Regions from separate parts of the Homo sapiens genome. Here region 2 is linked to region 1. The links are contacts of gene promoters, found by promoter capture Hi-C in human tissues and cell types (Jung and others, 2019). All regions are on one chromosome and are shown on one strand. Each heading gives the region's core, a stretch centred on a gene start or on the middle of the fragment in contact. The rest is flanking DNA. Distances are from core to core; before and after follow the strand shown. Region 1 holds the start of ERCC8 (ERCC excision repair 8, CSA ubiquitin ligase complex subunit). Region 2 has its middle 90 kb from the start of LINC03123.

Region 1 (5,186 bases), core at 1,181-3,680:
GCCACCGGACCCAGCCATAAATGGATTTTTTAATGGGCAAAAGGTTTGAACAATACTTCACCGAAGATCTGTAGATAGTAAATAAGCACATGAAAAGACTGTCAACATCCTCAGGCATTAGGAAAATGAAACTTAAAATCACAATGAGATACCACTATATACCTATCAAAATGGCTAAAATAAAAATAAAAACACACCCAAAAATCAGATAATACTAAGTGCTGGTGAGGGTGTGGAAACAACTAGAATTTTAATGCATTGCTGGCAGGAATACAAAATGGTACAGCCACTTTGAAAAACAGTTTGGTAGTTTCTCATAAAGTTAAACACACATTGATCACACAACTTAGTAATCCCACTACTAGATATTTACCCAAGAGATATGAAAACTTACGTTCACACAAATCCTGTATGGGAATGTTTGTAGAGCTTTTGTCACAATCACAGAAACTGGAAACATCCTAATGTCCTTCAGCTTGTGAACAGATAAACTGGCAAACCCATACAATGGAATACTACTGAGCAATAAAAAGGAACAACTACTGACACATGGATGAATCTCAGCTACATTATGCTATGTGAAGCAAGCCAGACTCAAAAGTCTAAATCCTGTATAATTCCATTTATATGATATTCTAGAAAAGACAAAACTATAGGCCCATAAAACACATCAGTAGTTGCCAAAGGGTGTGGGAATGAACTACTAAGGAGTTGGAGGAAATTCTGATGGTGATGGAATTATTCTATTACTTGAATCCAGTGAGGTTACTCTACTCATTTGTCAAAAACAATAAAACTGTACACCATAAAGGGTGAATGTTACTGTATGTAAATTATATTTCAATTTAAAAAAACTCAGTCTGACAGTTTGCATATTTTTAATTTTACTGACAACTTATGGAAAAGAAACATCTCTCTGCTTGCAACCTGTCAAGAAATACTTAACACCATGCTATGTTCTTTGCAGGCTTTTTTCTTTTTTTGTGAGACATATTCCCTGCCTGACAGAGGAGCTCATTAGGGAAACAAGTCTAAATATTAAAATAAGTTACAGAAAAAGGCCAGGCAAAAATAAATTAATTGAGTGATAAATCACAGAATACATTTTATATGTGTGGGAAATGAATGGCACATAATCTTGGAAAGGTCTTAGTGCTTCTCAACATTGCTGATCTTATATTATCTCTAACTTTCAAGTGAGGATGTTGAGACTTGGAGAGGACAAGTACTTTTTCCGTGATTCCCGAGCTATCAGGTGTCAAAGCTGAGATTCTAACCCACGCCTCTTCGCCCAAAACCTGACATTTTCTGCATGCGGCGATGGAACAACACAGAAGAGGTTACGACGGCGGCTACACAGTGTGATTTCAATGGACAGCAACGCCTCCTTACTCCCCAAACAACCCGCTCAACTACTTGGCACGAATCCTACACAGTAACACCATGATTATTGCCACGTTTCTTAAATTGAGCTCAACGGGGTCTTGGAATGTCAACTCCCGAGAAAGGAATCAGCGAGCCTTGTGGGGATATGGACCTACTTCTGACAAGTCTTGGTAGTAAGGAAGGCGCATGGGGCCAGCGCCGGAGCCAGGGTGCCACCGAAAAGGGTAAACACCAAGAAAGAAGACAGCCGAGGCGCTGAAGATACTCCTCTTCAATTACACCACTCAGCTCTGGGTCACAAGGCGGGGAACAGCGTACGAAAAACCCCTCCCCTGGCCCTTCTAGCCCCTTTGGTGAAAGATTTCCGTGGACTTTTCCCTGCCTCCGTCGCCAGTCCAGGGCTAAAACTGAGGCTCCTCTACAGGCGTGGCTGGGAGGAAAGTGGTGGTGCGCCTTAACAGCGCAAGCAGCCCGGGGCACGCCGGGGGAAGGCGCTGGGTAGTAGGGACCGCGGACGCACGAGGCCGGGCCAAGGCGCCCAGAGCCGGGCCGGGTAGGGCTCCGATGCCAGAGTGAAGGGGTCGACAGGGGAGAACGAACTCGGGAAATTCTCTCCGGTGACACCCTAAGTGTCGCATGATGCGTTAGTTGACTAGGGGCTCTCACTTTTCCCTCCTTTACTGACCTCGCAATCACTGACCACGCAATCGCTGCCCACGCCGCCACCTCACCTCTCCAGTTCTTGTACTGCGGGATGTAGTAGTATTTGTTCCCGAATTGGTCCGTGCCCACGTGCTCCTTCACTTCCCTTGACAGCGATCTCCACAAGGCGCGGAACAAATCCTGAGACCAACCCATGCCGTCCACCCAGTTTCCAGCGCTGCCAGCAGCGGGACCCGCAGTAGGGGTAATGCTCCAGCCGCCGACCCAGCCCACCGAGGCGGAGAAGTCAGGTCGGCCTCCATCCTGGAGCCCTTCTAGTAACGGCGCTCACCATTGGCCGGATATATCACCGACTGACCAATGGGAGACTCTGCTGTTCCAGTCCCGCCCCTGAGCTCTGTCATGGCGACGTCCAGTGCTCCAGCCGGTGTGAGGACACGATATGCTGGGGTTTTTGTCCGCACGCCAAACGGGTTTGGAGGACCCTCTTCGCCTTCGGAGAGCAGAGTCAACACGGAGGTAAAGAAAACCTTACTTTTTGGCTAACAGGCCAGTTAGAATCTGGACCAATGACTGTAAGCTTTGCCCCACACTTTCCCGTCTCATCGCTCTCCTGCCACCAAACTATTATTTGCCCTCTAATGCTGTGTGGCTTGCTAAAATAGGATCCCTTTTATTTACTGGTAACAACTTGCAGGCGGGGGGCGGCGGGGGTGGGGGGGGTTCCCCGGGGGTGGGGGGGGGGTTCCCCCGCGGGCTCAGGTGAAGACACTATAAACCTAAATAAGAATACTTCGTTGTACTGTATTCCTTCTCTCTTAAGTTACTCCAAAGAATAACTGCCCTCCACGGACTCGTTCATTCATTCAGTCTGCATATTTAGTGAATTCCTACAGTGTGCCAGGCAGCCTATTAAAGGCAGAGGACACAGGCCAGGAATTGAACAAAGTTCAGAATGACTAGAGCGGAGAATTGGGGTAGGGACCATTGACAAGAGATGAAGTAGACAGAAACTAGATGAGGAAGAGCCTTGTGTACTTGAGTAGAGGTGTGAAGATGAGAATAAGGTAACAGCTATTGCATTTTGTTTTCTGCTTGGAGAATGGGTTGCAACTGAGAACAAGAGTGGGAGCCAAGTTAGGTAACTGTTGTGATTACACTTGTCCGGGAGAGAGTTGTTGGAAGCCTGGGCCACAGAGTTGCCAAGTAGAATAAAGATAGTGGAGAGATTTGAACAACGTCTGAGAAATAGAATCAACAGGCCATGGAAATTGAGTGGATACGTGAATGACAAAAAGAGAAGAATGAATAATGATTCCCAGATCTATGCCTTGTATAAGAAGTTGAATGTTGGTAATATACTCTGAGAGAGGGTTTTCCAAAGGGAAGAAGCAAGTTGTACTTTTAATTTTGCCCACATTAATTGAGGAACCTGTGAAGATATTTACTTGGAGAACACAGTTGCTTATGAGTTCTGCGTTCTGGAGAAATTTAAATATTAGTTTCCAACATTTTATCCATTACGTTTTCAATGTTGTGAAATATCTCTGAGAGTTCCTTTAATGTGTTTTTTTTGCCAGTGTCACTTCCTCTGACACATCATCAGCCTTTCATCACAATCACTTTTCCTCATTTATGTCTATAAGTTCACCTTCACTGATTTCCTCAGTCTGCATATCTAGAATGTCTCAAATGGCGGCAGTGTCATTGTTGCCACAATCAGCATGTTCCCACAGGCAGCTTTTTTTTCATTTGCTCCATTTATGTTTAATGCAAGTTTCACTTCTAGTATTATCACTCTTCTTTAGTGCACTTTCATTCTTTTGGCCAATTTCCTCTTTTAATCTGTAAAATTCCATGTGGGTTTATCTCAAGGGCACAGAAATATTAATAACAAACCTCCATGCTTTGCAGCCTGTGTGTGAACTGAATAACAGATGCACAGTGACCAATCACCCATAGACTTTGAAAGAAGTAAAATTGCAAATTGGTCAATTTTGATTCATATGTTATTTATGTAATGATTTGTGAACTGAAAAGCTAGTAGCAAACTTTTATGCTATTTCTCACGGTTAATAAACTGTGGTAACTGAAATTCATATCAGACTGTGCCAAGTGAGGATTGCTTATACGTTTAAGACAAATAAAGTATTTAAAAATTAAAAAAATATTTTTTTTTTGAGGCAGGGTCTTGCTCTGTCACCCAGGCTGGAATGCAGTGGTGCAGTTACAGCTCACTGCAGCCTCGACTTTCCAGGCTCAAATGATCCTCCCATCTCATCCTCCTAAGTAGCTGGGACCACAGACATGTGCCCACACACCTAGCTAATTTTTAAATTTTTCGTAGAGATGGGGTCTCCCTATGTTTCCCATTCTGGTCTTGAACTCCTGGGCTGAAGTGATCCTCCTGCCTTTGCCTCCTAAAGTGCCGGGATTATATGTGCGAGCTACCACACAGCCTAAAATTTTTTTAAAAATATTTCCATCATTAAGTGATGTTTTTGCTTAAACAATTATATAGTTCCATTTTATTCATAGGAGATGTCTACTGTTCTTCCTTGTCATCATGTAAGAGCAAAAGGATGAACACTGATATGCAGTGTTCACAGTTTACACCCTCTAAAAAAACATTTTACAACTTTATTGAGGTATAATTGACATGCAATACCCTGCACATTAAATGAGAATATACAATTTGATGAATTTTGACATATATTTACTTTTGAAACCATTACCATAATCAAGAGAACATCCATAACCCTAAAAAATTTTTGACGGTCATTTATAATCCCTGTCTCCCTTCTTTCTCTGCTTTACCCTCTTCCTTCTCTAGAAACTACTAATCTGCTTTAGGTCACTATAGATTAGTTTGCATATCTAGTATTTTATATAAATGGAATCTTTTTTGTCTGGCTTCTTTCACTCAGCATAATTACATTATTTTGAAATTTCTCCATGTTATTGCATGTATCAATTCCTTTTTTTTGCTGTGGAGTATCCCACTGTGCAGATATACCACAGTTTATCTAGTCACTTGTCGATGGACATCTGAGTTGTTTCCAGTTCAGGACTAATACATTTACAGCTGCTCTGAAAATTCATGTATGAGTCATTGTATGAACATATGCTTTTATTTC
Region 2 (5,186 bases), core at 1,818-4,317, 880 kb before region 1:
GGATTTCATACATATTGCAGTTTCCCTCCGGAAGGTCTATTCCAATTTACTCTTTTGGATTTATTTTTTAAACCATGCAAATCTATGTTCAGAATGAAAAAGAAGCTCTGACCAGTTTCTAGAACAGAGCATGTTCTATCCCAGAAAGTCCTTGCCAGAGGGGAAAGGGGGAGGACATGAGAGAAGGGCTGGGAAAGAACAGTTCCAGGGTTGCCTCAAAGGATATGAGCTTTAATAAGCCCCTTATACTTAGGGCTTTGTGGTTATTATAGAGCACCTTCTCCTAGAGTACCTATGCAGTCCCTCTGAGCACAACGTTTCCTCTTTCATTCAGGTCAAAATTTCTGCAGGCTGCTACACCCCAGTCAGGGAATCTGCACTTGGAAGGAAAACAGAGGCTGGGAAAATTCCACCCTGACTTGCCCTCTTTTCTTGTTTGATTCATATCTGTGGCTACTGGCCTCCAGGAAACAAAAATGATAAGAAACCCAAACCCAGGTCATCATTAGCAAAATGAAGCAGTTTTCCAGTTAGTTGGAGGGCAGCCCAAAGTGGGGTGGAGGATTCTGCCTTAGAGAAACTTCCAAAATGATGTCTGATACTTATCAGGGTAACTGACAGGGCTTTGTGCGTCATGCAACCCTCAGTTACCAGGTCTCGTGGCTTCATGGGTCTAGCTCCCTAGTGAAAAAATGGCTGTCTCCTAGAATCAGGCAGAGAAGGTGAAACCTGGGAGTATGGAGTTTATCAAGTTACATTCAACATCTAACCAGCACAGCTAACATTTTCTTGGTATATGAGTGTATCAAGGTTACATTCAACACATACTCTAGGATGAAACACATAGGGAGGTGTATACACAGGGCATGTCTAGCTCCATACAGTTTCAAATCCAGGTAAAGAAAATGTAAGGGATTTGGAATAAAGACAATGTCCTGTTTGTGTGAATACTTTGTAACTCTTGTAAGATATTGGAAATGATCTCCTCTTCACTGAGCAGTATGGGAAGCAAATCACTCTTACCATTAAATCTGATTTGAATGCCAAGTGCACTAAATAGATGCCCATTTACATAATTAACTTGAAAAATAACAAAAATAAGACCCGATTCCCTCATCACTCCTGTAGAATCCTGGGTAGGTAGGTGGTCCTGATCTTAGTCCTAGCTGACCAAGGTTTTCCAACCAAGAGCAGGCTTCCAGGATGCTCCCGCTGGCTCATCCAAGATATTCTCCTGAGCTGCCTGGACTTGAGTGAGGAGCAAGAAGCAAGAAATCACTGCATTGGAGATCATGGCTGAGATAATGCTTTTATTTGGGTACTTAACTCTCCTATGTCTCATGGGGGAAGTAATCCAGCAGGACATACCAGAAACTTGGTTTCTGGTCTGTGTAAATCTCACCATAAGCAAGTTGCTTCTTCTCTCTGGGAATCAGTTTCCTGGCCTTTAAAATTAGGAGTTTGAACTATGTTGTCTCCTAAGATCTTTTCACCTTTACTATAATCAACAAAACAGCTTCCATCAAACAAATCACCTATATCTCTTTTGAGTTTTAGAAAAGTTCAATTTAAAACCATCATTTGAATTTCTGCAGGCGCTGTGTGAAAAGTCACATGCTAAAGGGCAATTGTTTGCCCTTCATTGTTTCACTACTGTTGCCCTGGTTGGCCTTGGGTAGTGGGAAGCTTCTAAGTGCTCTGGACATGGACAAAACCATCCTTTGCCATCAAAATGGCAAAAGAAAGTGCAGTTTTGCTCTTTTTGTGCCATTCTTGGGGCTTCATTGGCTTCTTGGAAGGCAAATAAATGACCTTTTACCACCTTCACTGCTATATCCCTTCATATTTTACACTTTTCTGAAGTCCCGTTATGCTTTCATTTAGAGTCCAGATTCTAGATTGACTGTACTTACTCCAGCCTTTCTCCAAGCTCCAACTAAAGAACATCTGAAATAAACACTTCTACATTTATTGTAACATCGTCAGCTGGTTTCCAGGGTTGATCCTGAGAAGTCGGCAGCCAATTTGATCATGGTTCCTGTGGAGGTAGCCTGTCTTTTCTTGTTTTGTTGTCTCTTGTTCATGTTGCTCATTTTATCATGTTTTTAGCAATTTTTGTTCATCATCTCATATTCCCTGAAATTTTATTTATAATAATTTTTTGAGCACCGTGTTCTTCAAAGAGAGGCCTCATCAACCTGGAGTTATTTTTAACCACATGGTTAATTTGGGGTTTTTAGGCCATTGAGATAGCATAAATGTGTGTCCGAATCCCCCAAGCAAAGGTTCAGGCAGACAAATGTTGCTCTGTGAGGCAGGTTATCCTACTGAGGGTGTAACCCTTCAAGGGTGATGTTTTATTCAGAGCCCCAGGCTTTGTCTCTAGTCCCCTCTGAATGTGACTCTAGGCCACCAGGATAATTCTTGGATTTGGGAAAAATGTTAGCTGTACTGGTTTTAAAATATATCTACATATTCTCCAGTACTTCTCCCTTCAAAAAGTGGAAACTAAATTCCACTCCCCTAGAGTGTGAGCTGAACTTGATGACTTGTTTCTAATGAATAGAAAATAGTGGAAGTCATGGTACGCAACTTTCAAGACACTATGGGCCTTCTCCTTGCTCTCCTTGGATTGCTTATCCTGGGGGAAGCCAGTTACTAAAGTGTCAGGACACTCAATCAGCTCTATAGAGAGGCACCTTGGCATGGATCTGAGGCCTCCTGCCAAAAGCCATGTGAGTGTGCCATCTGGGAAGCACATCTTCCAGCCCCAGAAAGCCTTCAGATGATCTTAGCCATGGCCAATATCTTGACTGCAGCCTCTGAGCCAAAACCACCCAACCAAACAGCTCCCAAATTTCCAACCCACAGAAACTAGGAGATAATAAATGTTTATCATTTTAATAGACTAAGTTTTAGGATAATTTGTTACTCATCACTAGCTTATCTCTTGGAATTCTCCTTTTTTGTCACTTCTGACCTTCAATTATTTACTTTATTGCCAGAATAGCCATGCTTTTAAAAAGTACTTATTACATTTCATCTAGGATCTTAGGGAGTCACTTCTCGGGAGCAGCTTCTGCACATCTAGCCTGCCATATTTCTGAAAACAGAAGTCCTCACATTTGTTAACAAATCCCCTTGTCAAATGTAAAGCTAGTGAGGCAGGTTCATTAACCTCATGATGTAAGTAAGGAAGCAGTTTCAAAAAGACTGAGTATCTCCCCAAGGCCACACTGCCAGCAAGGAATGGAGCTAGGATCTGAATCCAAGTATAGCAAACACCAAAGTCCATGTTCCCTTTAAAATCACAAGCTGCTTTCCATGGATAGAATTGAAAATACTGTTGTCATCCAATCTAATCATTTATACATTGGGATAGAATGGATAGGAAAAGGATAGGTGGGAAGAAATAGAGGCAGAAGCTAGGGGCCCTGCTACCAGTGTGCTGAGGCTGCAGAGGGACTCTTGTGATCTTCGAGTGGACCTCCCAACTGTTCCTTGGAAAAGTCATTTGGCCCCATGCTGTCTTCTCTTCTATTTCCCAAGGTGTTCCCCAGGGTCCTACTCTAAATTGCGGTCTGGAGCACTCTCTCTCCCTCTGCACGTGCTCTCTGGGAGGACTGCGCTGCTCAATGGTTCCCATTAGTGATCATTTCCTGACAAATTCCCAGCTATCTTTGCAGCCGTGCCTCTCAGTCCTTCCCAGGCTTGTCTCTCTTGTTGTCAGCTGGAAGGTTGCACAACCAAATGATGAGCTCATGATATCACACACCCAGTAGGCAAGTAATTTAACTTCCCTAAGCCTCAGATTGCTCATCTATAAAATGGGAGCAATAGTGACTATCTCATGCACTTATGAATATTAAATGCTATACTATAAGATGTATAAAACCCAGTGATTGGCACATAGTAAAAGCTGAATAAATGGTAGTTATCTAGAAGGTTTAGCAAATTTAGTTGGTATTGGCTGGTGGCATAGCATGTGGTAGGGAAAGGTTTGTTTTTATGTATTTTCCAGTTTTCACATTTCATTGTAACACAAATGTAATTTCAGTGAAAGGAACAGGATGAAAATATGCAAGGCCTTTCTTATGACCTCTACCAACCCAGGGATTTAACATCATTAAGATAACTATTTGGACAGTTTAAGGCTACATATTTGCAAATGGGATTTTAAGGGTGAAAACCCATTTGTAACCCTAAGGTGTTTAAACAACCCTGCAATTTGATCTCAAATCCCCCCAGCACTATCTTAACTACTCCAGCCTCCTGTCTGGCAATCCCAGTCTTACATCTAGGACCACCTGTCAATTGCTGCAATGGCTGGGGTTTTGTGAGGCTCTCAGCTGTAACCTGATCTGCACAAGTGTTTGAGGGATGCTGCAGCTGCCACAAAATTTGTAAGTTTTACAGTGTTGTGTGGTGGCTGGGGTTCAACGGCACACCTCTGGAAAGTTTCCATTCATTTATTTCCTCATTCACCAAAACGTGATGAGTGCTAGCCAAGGGCTGGTCCCTGTGCTAACTAAGCCCTGGGAGTAGAAAGGGAGTAAAATAGGGCCTCTGTCTTCAGGGAGCTCACAGATTAGTAGCAGGCATAGACAGACAAAGACGTATTACAACACACATTTGTGCTTGATATGAGAATAGAAGCAGATACAAACATGGAAGAAAGTGACCATCCAAGGTGGGAGAAGAGGGGAGGGGAGGAACAGCTTCCCATAGGCATGGTATCGGGTGGGCTGTTAAATGTTTCTCTTGGCTCTAGCACCAACTCCCGTGTAATGGCACCCTGCCTTCCTACCTTTGTTCTTCCTATCTCGCTGGCCCAAATCCTTTTCTAGTTCCCATTTACTCTTAAACAAGTTCCCAGTATCTTATTTCCTCATAATTGTAGCACATCTCCCATCCCAGCACAACCCCAGAGGCACTTTCAGTTCAACATTAAATCCTGCCGTTTCTTCTTCTGTCTTCCTTAGCCTTCCCACAGCTCCGGTCCGAGCCATAATCACTTCACACCTGGACTCCTGCCTCCCAATTAGCTCCCCTTCCTGCAGCCTGGGGGTCTCCTCTCCTCTATTGGACACACATCATCGAGAATCATCTTCCTCCAGCGTCACTTAGATCACATCGCTCTCCTCTTTGCTTGCCCATAAAGGCTCCCAGTTGTCTCCCAAATCATA

What was found. The method cuts DNA at HindIII sites, captures the fragments that hold promoters and counts their contacts. A contact is called where the count stands out against the background at its distance.
Region 2: a fragment that was not itself captured here is called in contact with the fragment with the promoter of ERCC8 in region 1 in 1 of the 25 tissues and cell types used here (dorsolateral prefrontal cortex).

The regions. Positions count from the first base shown.
Region 1 is chr5:60,942,314-60,947,499 of GRCh38, reverse strand. ERCC8 (ERCC excision repair 8, CSA ubiquitin ligase complex subunit) reads left to right here and starts at 2,430. Exons shown (of 12, transcript NM_000082.4): 1 at 2,430-2,568. The coding sequence starts at 2,492. NDUFAF2 (NADH:ubiquinone oxidoreductase complex assembly factor 2) reads right to left here and starts at 2,295. Exons shown (of 4, transcript NM_174889.5): 1 at 2,118-2,295. The coding sequence starts at 2,244. RefSeq lists an enhancer at 1,530-1,659. The HindIII fragment of the contact is 9,089 bases long and covers 1-4,481 here.
Region 2 is chr5:61,823,162-61,828,347 of GRCh38, reverse strand. No RefSeq gene overlaps it. Among named protein-coding and RNA genes, the nearest start is that of LINC03123, 90 kb to the right of the region's middle. The HindIII fragment of the contact is 6,307 bases long and covers 1-5,186 here.